Regions from separate parts of the Homo sapiens genome. Here regions 2 and 3 are each linked to region 1. Evidence: promoter capture Hi-C in 16 types of primary human blood cells and fetal thymus (Javierre and others, 2016). All regions are on one chromosome and are shown on one strand. The core of a region is centred on a gene start or on the middle of the fragment in contact, and the rest is flanking DNA. Distances in the headings are between cores, read along the strand shown. Region 1 holds the start of HINT2 (histidine triad nucleotide binding protein 2). Region 2 holds the start of LOC124902148 (a long non-coding RNA gene). Region 3 has its middle 3.8 kb from the start of TESK1.

Region 1 (4,611 bases), core at 504-3,003:
GGGAAAATCACAGAATCAAATGTCTGCCCTTTAGAGGAGAAAGGATTTTCTAACAATAATATAGCTATACAAAAGAGATTGTTATATCTCTAGAAGCAAAGTTCCCCAACAGTGGTTATATGCCCCATGATAACCATTCACCTAAAACTAATTCAACTAATAGTCAACAATAGAGTTAGGATTACTATGATAAACTCATTGAAGGAAATAATAAGCAGCCAATACAAACTATATTTACGTAGACTGTAAAAATATGAAAAATTGATTACACATGGGTTAGTATCATATGCAATACATATTACATATTATGAAAAAAAGACAGGAAACACCAAATGTTATTCATTCAACAATTACTGACCACCTATATGTATCAGGTCATGTGTTTAAAAAAAAAAAAAAGAAAAAAAGAAAAACCAAAGAAACAGTGGTAACTTGTCCTATGTGATATCAGACTAAAACTTACCTAGCGTCTGAGAATATTAGTATTTTGTGACCCCACGTTTCTTATGTCAAAAATATATATTCCAGCAGTGCAAACCTGACTTATTGGTGCCTCATACCTGTAATCCCAGCACCTTGGGAGGCCGAGGCAGGAGGATCACGAGGTCAGGAGATCGAGACCATCCTGGCTAACACGGTGAAACCCCGTCTCTAATAAAAATACAAAAAATTAGCCGGGCGTGGTGGCGGGTGCCTGTAGTCCCAGCTACTCGGGAGGCTGAGGCAGGAGAATGGCGTGAACTCGGGAGGCGGAGCTTGCAGTGAGCCGAGATCGCGCCACTGCACTCCAGCCTGGGCGACAGAGCGAGACTCCGTCTCAAAAAAAAAAAAAAAGAAAAAAGAAAAAAAGAAAAAAAAAGAAAACACCAGGCACCGAGCTAACTGTATCACACACCTTTTCCGATTAGAAAAGAACAATGAATACATACTCCTTTGCTTATTATAATTCTTGTGCGGCAAATATAGGACACTCTTATCTCCTCCTGCTCAAAAAAAAAAAATGCAAAAACCACAGACTTTTTAATCTATGGAGTGAATGCGTTAACAAGAACATAGAATTAAGGAAGAATTTCCCTTAGATAAGTACATTAAAATCTCCAAAATGCTCAAGGGACTGAAACTGCCCTTGTGGAGAAAATGCTGCGCATCAGCCCCGCCAGTTAAAACAAACAAACAAACACAAAAAAACACACCTCATCCCCGTTCACCTTTAGCCCCACCCCGGGTGGTTCTTGGAGCCAATAAGCGCCGGATGCCCTCAGAGCCCCGCCCTCCTCCTGGCCAAAGCGGTGAGAGGGTCTAAAACAGCCCTTTCTGCAGCAGGTGGCGGAGCCCCGCCCCCTTCTCCCCGCGCACCAATAGGAACCAGACCTGAAGAGGACGAACCAAGAACGAAAAGAACCACCCACTCGGGAGCCGCAACCTAGAAGCCAGAGTTGTGTATCAGATTCAACTAGGAGAAAATCCCACCTCCAGGCTCCATTAATCCTTCCAATGGAGTGGAAGTTTCTCTCACAGAGAAACTAGTAAGGGGATCCAATGGGAAAAGAACGTTCACACGGACTAGAAGACGAAACCAATGGAATGGAAAATTGTCCTCGCGTTGGTAGAAGCAGCCAATGAGATGAAAAGAGCCCGCCTCCAAAGTGGCTGCAGAGGCAATGGGGTGAATCGTGCTCAGAGGCGCGCTCCAATGGGGTAGCAGGGCTCGCCCGGCCGCCACTACCCCGCTTCCCCGCGCCCGGAGTCCCCACCCACGGCCGGCCGCGGAGCCGAGTGCTGACCCGGGTGAGAGGTTCCCGCGGCTCAGGGAAGATGGCGGCAGCCGTGGTGCTGGCTGCTGGGTTGCGCGCGGCGCGCAGAGCCGTGGCGGCCACGGGGGTGCGCGGGGGGCAGGTGAGAAGTGGCGCGGGAGCGAGTAGGGGGTCCTGCGGGCTCCGAAGCCATCCGGGGCCAGGGGGTCCCGAAGGCGCGCAGAGCCGCGCAGAGCTCCTGCCTGTGGCCTCTGCCCCTCCGAGGCACAAGCTCCGGGGCTGTGTGGTGAGGTCGAACTGGTGGCTCCGGAGAACGAGCTGGTGCTGATTCCCGCCCTGCGCAGGCCGGGGCGCCGAGGTCGGGACAGGGTCAGTGCAGCGGCTGCCGCCTTCTTTCCACTGCCTGCAGCCCAGCTGGCCCGATGCCCCCTGCAGGAAATGAGCTTTCTCTTCTTGGAGCCAGTGCTCTGCCCTCCTCAGGCTTCTGGCCTCCTAATGAGCACTAGTGTTAACCTCTCTTCTGCACTTGCCAGAAGCGGCTCGGAGGTCAGAGAATTCATTCCGTCCCGTTCTCCCCCAACGTGATGCAATGACATCAGCCTTCTCTGAATCCCTTACCCGAAGTTCCCTGGGGCTAGGGGAGCAGAGGTCACTTAGCTGAACTCTTACCTCCACTCATTCAAGGGACAAGAGTTAAAATTCACAGAGTCACATGTGACACCCAGATGAGGGGTCAACTAGTGTCAAACAGGGCGATTGCATTAAAACTTAAATAAAACAGGCGACAAGGCTTAAAGATCAGAAAACAAGTAACGGAAATAAGTGGAAATGTACTAACAAGGTGAGAGTGGAAAGAGATTCAAGCCATCGCAAGAGATTATGGAAACCATCCCTTTATTTTATATTAGAAGCTGAGAGAAGGAATTTATCTGAGGTAATTCAGTGGTATGGTAAGGTAGGAACTGAGACCAAAATCCCCAGTCTCTCATTCTAGATCCTTTCCCTAAACAGTGCTATATTTCGTGGACACATGAGCAGGAATCAATTGCACTGCTGAATCCTGATAATAATACCGCCTGTTATCTAACCAGGTCCAGCACCTTCTGGCCCTACCCTTTGCTGCTGGTGCTCTGAAATTCAGGAACTTTCCTCCTGGGTGGGAACGATGAATAGGTTATTAGAAGGACGAAATTAACAACTATCAGAGCCCAGCTTCTGCCAGCTCCCTCCTTTGAATATGGTCGATCCACCTTCAGGTCCGAGGAGCTGCAGGTGTGACTGATGGGAATGAAGTGGCCAAGGCCCAGCAGGCAACTCCTGGGGGAGCAGCCCCAACCATCTTCTCCCGGATCCTGGACAAGAGCCTCCCAGCTGACATTCTCTATGAGGACCAGCAGGTGGGGTGCTCTTAGGACCTATCCCCTTAGGAATGTTGTAGATACCATCCAACCTGTTGAAGTAACGTGGCCTCTGGCCTGTCACTTCCCCCAGTGTCTTGTGTTCCGTGATGTGGCCCCTCAGGCTCCTGTGCACTTCCTGGTCATTCCTAAGAAGCCCATTCCTCGGATTAGCCAGGCTGAAGAAGAAGACCAGCAGGTGGGAAGAACAGGGCCAGGGTTTGGCTGGGAGGAGCCCCTGGACCCAGCTAGAGGTCTTGCTCCCTATGAATGAAGCCACCTATGTCCCTCCGCTCTCTCTATAGCTTCTAGGACACCTACTCCTTGTGGCCAAGCAGACAGCAAAGGCTGAGGGCCTGGGAGATGGATACCGACTTGGTGAGTGACTTTTGGCCCTTGGTCCCTCACCTATGAATTCTCATTCCTACTTCTCAATATGATCTTCATTCTTCGACCTCTGCCATGATCCTGACTCCCTAACCCCAAGCTCAATTTCAGTGATCAACGATGGGAAGCTGGGTGCACAATCTGTGTATCATCTGCACATTCATGTACTTGGGGGCCGGCAGCTCCAGTGGCCTCCAGGTTGAACCTGCCAACTGATTAAAGGACACCAGACTCTGGATGCTTGGATGGAAAGGGAAAAATGGACCCTGTGATGCTAATAAAACTGTTCTCCCTTAATTATGCTCTCCTGTCTTTAATATAAAATTTTATACCACAAAGGGGAAAGAAAACTGATTCAGGGCTATGATGCCCCTTGACTGGTCTGAGTGAAAGACACTGAGGAGGTCCAACCTGTGGTTAAATGTTGCCTGCAGATATGTAAGTCTTCTTGACAAGTGGTCCACCCTAGGTCAAGCTTCTAGAAAAGTAACAGTAGGAATGAGCCTAAATGAGTAGGAAGAAACTGAAAGCCAATCCTGGCCCTTCTTCAGAGGTCAAACCAGGTTCTAAGGGCGCTTAGGAGGAGGGTGGTCAATATGAGGGTCTTTTATTAGAGGAGGAGTAATCACACCCAAACAAAAGCGGCTGCCTTTTCACTATTCTACGTCTCACCATTTTGCTCAAGCTAGTTTGTTTATTTTCATCCTTAACATTTGTTAAAGACCCCACTCACTTTTGAGAATGAACTAAGCAAACTAAGGGGAAGCTACTTGCCTCTCAGCAAACACCAAGTAGGCTGTAATCTAATGCCACAACCCTGTGCCTGTTTCCAACATATCCCCATAAAGCATCATCTTAGAAAACCGCACGCAAAGACTGTTTGGACGTGGAGGGCGAGGTCTTAAGCCAGCGGAACCCTAAAACCCCGTCTGAGGCGGAATGCCGCCGGGACCGGAAAGCGGACCTCCCTAACAGCACTAGGCTGAAGACTTCCGCCCCGCAGAGGACTTGCCTCCACCGCCACCTGCAAGTCCGCCCAGCTGTACTTCTGCGCAGGCTCCAGGAGTTGTTTG
Region 2 (4,318 bases), core at 934-3,433, 190 kb after region 1:
AGCCTCCCAAAGTGCTGGGATTACAGGCGTGAGCCACTGGGCCTGGCCTTTATAAATTTGTCTTTTTAACCCATTTTTTTCTGAGACGGAGTCTTGCTCTGTCACCCAGGCTGGAGTGCAGTGGTGGAATCTCGGCTCACTGCAAGCTCCGCCTCCTGGGTTCAAGCTATTCTCTTGCCTCAGCCTCCTGAGTAGCTGGGATTACGCATGTACCACTATGCCCAGCTAATTTTGTATTTTTAGTAGAGACGGGGTTTCGCCATGTTGGCCAGGCTGGTCTTGAACTCCTGACCTCAGGTGATCCGCCTGCCTCGGCCTCCCAAAGAGCTGGGATTATAGGTGTGAGCCACTGCGCCAGGCCTCGCTTGCTAATTTTAATCAGCTGAGGTCAAAGGGGTTGGAGGTCACAAGACACAATTTCTGGGGACTAGGGCTGCCTCATCAGCAGGGGTTTGCCTGCTTAAAAAGGGCTATAGGTAGTATTTAAGTATGGGATAAAAAACACAAAGTAAAAAACAAAACAAAAAAAAAGGGCTATAGGTGTGGCTGGCACAATGTTAGATGTATTTGGTAAGGGGGCTACAGTTCTATGTGGCAGCCTTTTGTCACAAGCTTCTTTCCAGTCACTGGGTCAGTTTATAAGGCGCTTACAGCCTGCTGAGTCCAGTTTCCCAATTTGTAAAATAAGCAGGCTGGGCTCTCTAAGATCCCTTCAAGTGTAAAATAATAACTGCCTTTCTCCTCAAACTTTGTTACATAAACAATTGTTAACCCAGGACTCCCTCCATCCTATGCTTATGCAATTTATTTTTTGAATTCCAAATTTCATTTTTCAATAAATGCTTGCTGTATTATCTTTTTTTTATTTTAATTTTGATTCATTTATTTTTTGAGGGAGGGTTTCACTGCTGCCCAGGCCAGAGTGCAGTGGCACAAACATGGCTGACAGCAGCCTCGCCCTCCTGGGCTCAAACAATCCTCCCCACTCAGCCTCCCAAGAAGCTGAGACCATAAGCATGTGCCATCACACCTGCCTAATTTTTAAATTTTTTGTAGAGATGGAGTCTCGCTGTGTTGGCCAGTCTGGTCTCGAATTCCTAGGCCCAAGTGATCCTCCCACCTCAGCTTCCCAAAGTCTTGGGATTATAGGCATGAGCCATTGTGCCTGACTTTGCTGTTATTATTATTATTATTATTATTATTTTTTTTGAGACAGAGTCTCGCTCTGTCACCCAGGCTGGAGTGCAGTGGCACCACCTTGGCTCACTGCAACCTCTGCCTCCCGGGTTTAAGCGATTCTTTTGCTTCAGCCTCCTGGGTAGCTGGGACTACAGGTGTGCGCCGCCATGCCCGGCTAATTTTTGTATTATTAGTAGAGACGGGGTTTCACCATATTGGCCAGGCTGGTCTCGAAATTCTGACCTTGTGATCTGTGCACCTTGGCTTCCCAAGGGATAACAGGCGTGAGCCATCGTGCCTGGCCTGCTGTTATTATTTTTATGACATTTCATTCTGTGGTTTGGAGCCATCATTTTGCCTTGTTGCAAGGCTTGAATCTTGAGTTGGCCTTTTGATGTATTTGCTTTTCAGCTCTGTGCCATTAAGCACAGAGAACGTGCTTTCTGTGTCACCATTTGAGGCAGGACCAAGGAGAGGCCTGGGGCAAGTCACCGAAGACCTATCTGTACTCTTTGGCTTCAGTGATCAAAGAAATCCAAGTCTCCCTCATGGTGCAATCAGGTGGCCCATTTTTCTCCCTCCTGACTCTGAAGCCTTTGTGACAGATTTTAAAGAGGCGTTTGTAAAGTCCACACCTAGTGTGTCTCCAGCAATCATACTCTTGATTGAGGTCAGACTATCTTGTATTTTACAGATGGAAAACTGTCACTTGCCCAAAGTCACATACTGTGGCAAGGCTGGTCTCTTTAACCAGAGTCTCCCTATTCTTTCTATTACATCATGCTTCCTCCACAGTTCACGAAACTCTTGCTGCTCTAATAAATTACACACTTGGTGGCTTAAACAATACAAATTTATTGTCTTACAGTTGTGGAGATCAGGTCGACACAGGTCTCACTGGGCTAAAGTCAAGGTGTCTGCAGGGCTGGTTCCTTTCTGGATGCTGAAGGGGAAAATCTGCTTCCTTGCCTTTTCCAGCTCTCAGAGGCTTCTTGCATTCCTTGGCTCAAGGTCCTCTTCCTGCACCTTCAAAATCAGGACCTATGGGTTGAGTGTTTCTCCTGTGGCGTCTCTCTGGCCCTCCTTCCCTCACCGAATCTCTTTCTTCCCATGATGGGAAAGGTTCTCCCTTTCAAGGACTCATGTGATCAGAGTGTGCCTACCAAGATAAAACAGGATAATCTCTCTATCTAAAGGACCTTGATTAACATAGCCACATCTACATTTTGTCAGGTAAAGTGACATAGTCACAGGTTCTGGGGATTCGGGTGTGAACATTTTTGGGAGGCCATTATTCTGGCTACCACACCCTGTCAGTAAACTAGGGCTTCCCGGAGGCCAGTGGGTTAAAGTAATGAAGACAGATATAGCCTGACTTTCAGAGTCTTAGGAGATGCTCCCGATGTCCTGACATAGACTGTATCAATGACACAAAGTTGATCAGGTGAGCCCCCTTCCACATGGCAAATTCTATCTGATGCCCTCATGGTTGGGCCCCCTCCTCTTGTCAACCGTAAACACCCATTCCCTGTAATGAGTAGTGGGGAGGCCAGGAGAGGGCAAAACATGGGTGTTAGTGTCTGCCCTCCAGGCTCTCAGATGATGATAGTATGGTTCTGGAAAAGCTGAAATGTACAGCACTGACCCCTCACCTCTTAAAAGTTCCCTGATATTTGGGCAGTAGAGGTACAGCTTGGAGTTACAGGTATCTTTTCTGATGTCCAGCCTCTAAATGTAATGTGAATGTCAAAACTGTAAAGACCCCAAGTGACACACGTGGGGAAGGGGAAGGATCCTACTCTCTTACCCTGTTCACAAAGGAAGGCTACAAGCTGGTCTAAGACAGAAGCGAATGCGGCCTGTGATGAAAAGATATGTAACCATCACCAAAAGAGCTAAAGAGGAGAAAAATATAGAACAAGCCTGGTTAAGACATTCAAGATATTGCGGTGTGCAGTTCCATCTGGGGATCCCCTTCTTTTTTTTATTTTTTTTTATTTTTGGAGACAGAGTCTCACTCTGTGGCCCAGGATGGGCACAATCTCGGCTCACTGCAACCTCTGCCTCCCGGGTTCAAGCAATTCTCAGCCTCCCTAGTAGCTGGAATTACAGGCACATGCCACCATTCTCAGCTAATTTTGTATTTTTAATACAGATGGGATTTCACCATGTTTGCCAGGCTAGTCTCAAATTCCTGACCTCAGGTGATCCGCCCACCTCAGCCTCCCAAAGTGCTGGGATTACAGGTGTGAGCCACCATGCCGGCCAGGAGATCCCCTTCTTAAGCCTCTCTACAGGTCAAGTTAGGCAGCAAGCCCATGTATTCCATTTTTTTTTTTTTTTTTGGAGATGGAGCTTTGCTCTTGTTGCCTAGGCTGGAGTGCAATGGTGTGATCTTGGCTCACTGCAACCTCCACCTCCTGGGTTCAAGCGATTCTCCTGCCTCAGCCTCCTGAGTAGCTGGGACTACAGGTTCGAGCCACCACACCAGGCTAATTTTTTTGTATTTTGTAGTAGAGACGGGGTTTCACTATGTTGGCCACAGACACCTTTTTGAGTGCAGACTAGAAGCTTGGTTTTGGCATTTTACCTGGCATCTACATCATGTTCACCTGTGTATTGGATCTGAAAACTGGGACATTCTACAGTTTGTGGAACTCCTGCAAATGTTCCTGCAATTGATTTACTCACACACTGCCCACACCCACCCCCTGTACACCACAGGTTCAAGTATTTGACTCTTCCCACCCCACCCACCCCTGCCACCAGCTGCTCTATACCCTCCCACTCACTCTCAGGGCCCCTGAGGTCCCCAGGGAGTCACCACCACATACCACTCTCTGTATCTGGGGGAAGGTCTAGGTTGTTGGAAACTTTAATCAAGCAAGGACAGTTAACAGCTGCAGAGGCACCTTAGGAAACAGTGAGCTTCAAAAAGGAAATACTTGTAGGATCTCTTGTGATGACCTTTGACGACTTTTCTGAAAATGACCCGTCATTCTCTGCCATGGAAAATAACAGTGATCACAGGCAGCCTTCAGCCCACAGAAGGCTTCCTCCTCCAGGCAGGCTCTGACATAGCCGCTCACCTCACAGATGCCCTAACAGACTGCAAAGTCCTGGGAACATGCATATCCAT
Region 3 (4,169 bases), core at 187-2,686, 210 kb after region 1:
TGTTAACATCTACAACTAATTTGTGAATTTGCTTTTTATTGTATGACATCTGTAAACACTAGGAATTTATGCCTCATTTTGTTTAATATCATAGATCTTTTAACCGACACTGGGTTCTGGCCCTTTATCACGTTTGAGAATTACTGTAGTAGTTGGTGATGGTAATGCCAAGCCAAAGAGCCAGGTGCCTATTTTTTGTAAGATGATTGCGGTGGTTGTATGGAGGCCGGGAGACTGATTAGGAAGGAGGCTGTGACTGTGGTTCAATCAGGAAAGGATGAGACCAGCCTGGCCAACGTAGTGAAACCCCGTCTCTACTAAAAATACAAAAAAATTAGCCTGATGTGGCGAGCGCCTGTAATTCCAGCTACTCTGGAATCTGAGGCAGGTGAATCGCTTGAACCCGGGAGGCGGAGGTTGCAGTGAGCCAAGATCGCGCCATTACACTCCTGTCTAGGCGACAAGAGCGGGACTCTGTCTCAAAAAAACCTTTTGTTGTTGTTTGTATGGTGGAAAATGTCTTAACACACACACACAGAATAGAAAAATGAATGTTTATTTACCTTGGATTAGTAAGACCATTTTGTTGGAAACCCATAGTGCAAAATTGGCTTTCCTTTGCCTCAGTTGTACTGTTGCCATATTTGACCTGGCCCAGGTGAAAGTACCTACTTTCATTTACCCTTCTATGTCAGTGATTCTCCAATGAGCAATTCATGGCCAATCTTGTTTCATCTATACCCGTGCCCTCTTCCCCACTCCATATTTGTGTATATTTCTGACATATCATTTCATCCTGTAAATGTTTCAGTACGTTATCTCTAAATGATAAGGATTCTTCTTTAAAACCAAATCACAGTATTGTCACACCAAAAAAAAACAATAGTTCCTTCATGTCATCAAGCATCCAGTTGTTTACATTTCCCTCACTGTCTTACGTTTGATTTTTAAAAATTGTTTATTTGAATCAAAATCTAAATTAGGTCTGTACTTTGCAGGTGATATGTCTGTCTGTCTGTCTCTCTTTTTGTGAGACAGGGTCTGGCTCTATCACCCAGGATGGAGTGCAGTGGGTTGATCTCGGCTCACAGCAACCTCCACCCCCGAGGCTCAAGCAATCCTGCCTCAGCCTTCTGAGTGGCTGGGACTACTGAGGTGTGGGTACCACCACACCTGTCTAATTTTTGTATTTTTGTAGAGATGGGGTTTGCCACGTTGCCCAGGCTGGTCTCAACTCCTGGGCTCAAGCATTCCATTCGCCTTGGCCTCCCAAAGTGCTGGGATTATAGGTGTGAGCCACCACACCCAGCCATATGTTTCTTAAGTCTTTGCAGATCTATGCTTATTCTCCATCTTTTTTCTTACTATTTTTTAAAACTGGTTCATTTGTCCTGTAGAGTTTCTTAGAGTCTTGATTTCTGTGGTAATTTAGCATGTTCCTCCATCCTCTGTATTTGATATAAATTGGTAACTTAATCAAATTTAGATTTCTTTTGGCAAAACTAATTTGTAGATGGTTTTAGCACTTCTATCAGGAGGTATACAGGAGGTATACAGTGGTGGTCTTTTTGTGATTTTAATAACTGATATTTGTTTCTCAACCGTGGCACTATTGACATTTTGGGCTGGAAAATTCTTTATTGTAGGGGCTGTCCTGTGTATTGTAGGATGCTTAGCAGCATCTCTGGCCTCTACCTAATGGATGCCAGTAGCACCTCCTCCTGACTGTAACAATAAAAAAATGTGTCTAGACATTGCCATTTGTCCTCTGGGGGACAAAATTGACCCTGAATAAGAACCACTGGTCTAGGTTCATTAATAGAGGAGTTAAAGCTGGGCATGGTGGCACGCGACTATAGTCCCAACTACATGGGAAGTTGAGCCGAGAGGGTTGCTTGAGCCCAGGAGTTCGAGTCCAGCCTGGGCATCATAGCAAGACCCTGTCTCAAAATAAATAAAAAGTTAGAAAATAATATTATCATTCCTTCTTTGAATGAATTCCTATAGAAGTATTAGGTAGAATAATTCTATAAGGAGAAACTTTTCCACATTAACTATTTGTTACACAGAGATACATTTCCTAGGAAAGGCAGAATAAATACTTGATTGTTTCTCACTTATTTTACCAGCTTTCAAAGTAATGAGTTGGTTCCCCAGCATCTTCCAAAGTTGACCGATGAGGTTTTTTTTAAAGTACCATTATGAACTCATAATTTAACACATATGTGATATACTCAATTATTGCTAGTTATCTTTTTTTTCTTTTTGAGACGGGTCTCACTCTTTTTCAGGCTGGAGTGCAGTGGCACAAAGCTCACTGCAACCTTGACCTCCCGGGCTCAAGTGATTCTCTCATCTCAGCCTCCCAAGTAACTGGGACTACAAGCACGTGCCATCACACCTGGCTAATTTTTAATTTTTTTGTAGAGACAGGGTCTCACCATGTTTTGCCCAGGCTGGTCTCAAACTCCTGGCCTCAAGTGATCCTCCTGCCTTGGCCTCCCAAAGTGCTGGGATTACAGACATGAGCCACTGCACCCAGCCCAGTTATTGATTGATTGATTGATTGAGATGGAGTCTTGCTCTGTCACCCAGGCTAGAGTGCAGTGGTGTGATCTCGGCTCACTGCAAACTCCGCTTCCCAGGTTCAAGCGATTCCCCTGTCTCAGCCTCCTGAGTAGCTGGGATTACAGACACCTGTCACCACGCCCGGCTGATTTTTGTATTTTTAGTAGAGACAGAGTTTCACCATGTTGGCCAGGCTGGTCTCAAACTCCTGACCTCAGGTGATCCTCCTGCCTTGGCCTCCCAAAGTGCTGGGATTACAGGCGTGAGCCACTGCGCCCAGTTATCATTTTTGGTGCTTGTCCTATTGTTACGGGATCTTTGGGGCGTCCTTTTTCTGGCCAGAAACCTCTGTGGCTGGTGGTGCTTTTGCCCCAGTTTTGCTCAGGCCCTCTGGGCTTGTTTCGCCTACCCAGCCTGGCAGCCTGTGCTTGGCTCACGCTACCAGCCTGGGTCCCATGCCTGCCAAGGGTGAGACAGGCGTGGAACAGTTAGGGGTATGTGAGTGAGCATTGGGTCCAGCCACTGTGCACAGTCAGACATTCCGGGTGCTGCAGTGGGGCGGGCAGTTCCAGGTGCCAGCATGGCACCATTTCCCTGCAAGCCTGCGGCCGGACCAGGCACATGGCAAGCAGCTTCCACAGCTGGCACTGGGGGACACATTGGTGCCTGGAAGCTTGGAGATGCCAGGAACAGCAGGTCCTCAAAGAGGAAGTCACAGCCCTGGCTTGGGGAGCTCCCAGGGCTAGGCTCCCCGAAGGGCTGCAGTTCTTCTTTCCTTGCCTTCACCCACAACGTGGCAAGCAAGGGTCATGTCTCACCCCCGTTTGTTACAGCTCTTTTAGCCTCACCATTTGGTGGGTCCTGAGTTCTTGTCCTGCGACAGGAAGAATGAGGTACGCAGACAAGTGAAGAGTGAGCAAGACAAAGAGTAGCTTTATTGAGCAATAGAACAGCTCAAAAGAAACCTGCAGGGGGCAGCTCCTTTCCCTAGCAGGGGTGTCCTGAGGCATGTTCAGCTCCTAGCAGAGAGGGTAGCTCCTCTCTGCTAGGCAAGTCGTCCTGACAAGTGTTCAGCTATCAGCAGGGAGGGTAGCGTCTCTCTGCAGCTGGTTGTCCTGTCATCTGTGCAGCTCTCAGCAGAGGGGAGGCCCTAGAGTGGGTGGCTTCTCTCTGCAGGTATGTCATCCTGTAGTCTCTGCAGCTCTCAGCAGAGAGGAGGCCCCAAAGTTGGTTGCTCCTCTCTGCAGCTGGTTGTCCCAACATCTGCGGCTCTCACAGAGAGGAGGCCTTGGTGTGGGTAGCTCCTCTCTGCAGCTGATTGTCCTGACGTCTGCTCAGAGCCTGGGCTTTTATGGGCCTTAGAGGGGAGGAAGTGCATGCCAGTTGGTCCTGGGCAGCCATGGGTGGGCCTGGAAGTGTCACCACAAGTTCCCACTCCCATAGTGTGATGGGCAGCCCGGTCCCCAGCCTTCAGGCCCTCCCTGGCCTGAAAGTGGGGCCTTACCAGGGACCTGCCCCATCCGCTCAGAAGCCTGTCTGCCTCCTGCTGCCATTCATGGTGCCCAGGCTGTAGGTGCCAAGAGGCGCCTGCAGGCCAGTGC

Evidence for each region. Contacts are between HindIII fragments. The CHiCAGO score rates a contact against its expected background, and 5 or more counts as called.
Region 2: a fragment that was not itself captured here is called in contact with the fragment with the promoter of HINT2 in region 1 in 1 of 17 cell types (fetal thymus); the score reaches 5.4 in fetal thymus.
Region 3: a contact is called between a fragment that was not itself captured here and the fragment with the promoter of HINT2 in region 1, in 6 of 17 cell types (fetal thymus, naive B cells, total CD8 T cells and 3 more). The highest score is 7.4, in fetal thymus.

The regions. Positions count from the first base shown.
Region 1 is chr9:35,812,184-35,816,794 of GRCh38, reverse strand. HINT2 (histidine triad nucleotide binding protein 2) reads left to right here and starts at 1,753. Exons shown (of 5, transcript NM_032593.3): 1 at 1,753-1,896; 2 at 3,011-3,151; 3 at 3,246-3,350; 4 at 3,457-3,529; 5 at 3,650-3,835. The coding sequence starts at 1,816. The coding sequence ends at 3,741. SPAG8 (sperm associated antigen 8) reads left to right here and starts at 4,533. Exons shown (of 7, transcript NM_001039592.2): 1 at 4,533-4,611. It overlaps FAM221B (family with sequence similarity 221 member B), which reads left to right. Exons shown (of 7, transcript NM_001012446.4): 7 at 1-404. RefSeq lists silencers at 1,111-1,290, 1,621-1,940 and enhancers at 1,381-1,560, 4,459-4,611. The HindIII fragment of the contact is 5,278 bases long and covers 1-4,015 here.
Region 2 is chr9:35,619,678-35,623,995 of GRCh38, reverse strand. LOC124902148 (a long non-coding RNA gene) reads right to left here and starts at 3,075. Exons shown (of 2, transcript XR_007061470.1): 1 at 2,987-3,075; 2 at 2,015-2,338. It also overlaps a transcript of CD72 not described here. The HindIII fragment of the contact is 3,138 bases long and covers 615-3,752 here.
Region 3 is chr9:35,599,377-35,603,545 of GRCh38, reverse strand. No RefSeq gene overlaps it. Among named protein-coding and RNA genes, the nearest start is that of TESK1, 3.8 kb to the left of the region's middle. RefSeq lists a silencer at 3,551-3,670 and an enhancer at 3,860-4,169. The HindIII fragment of the contact is 3,614 bases long and covers 1-3,243 here.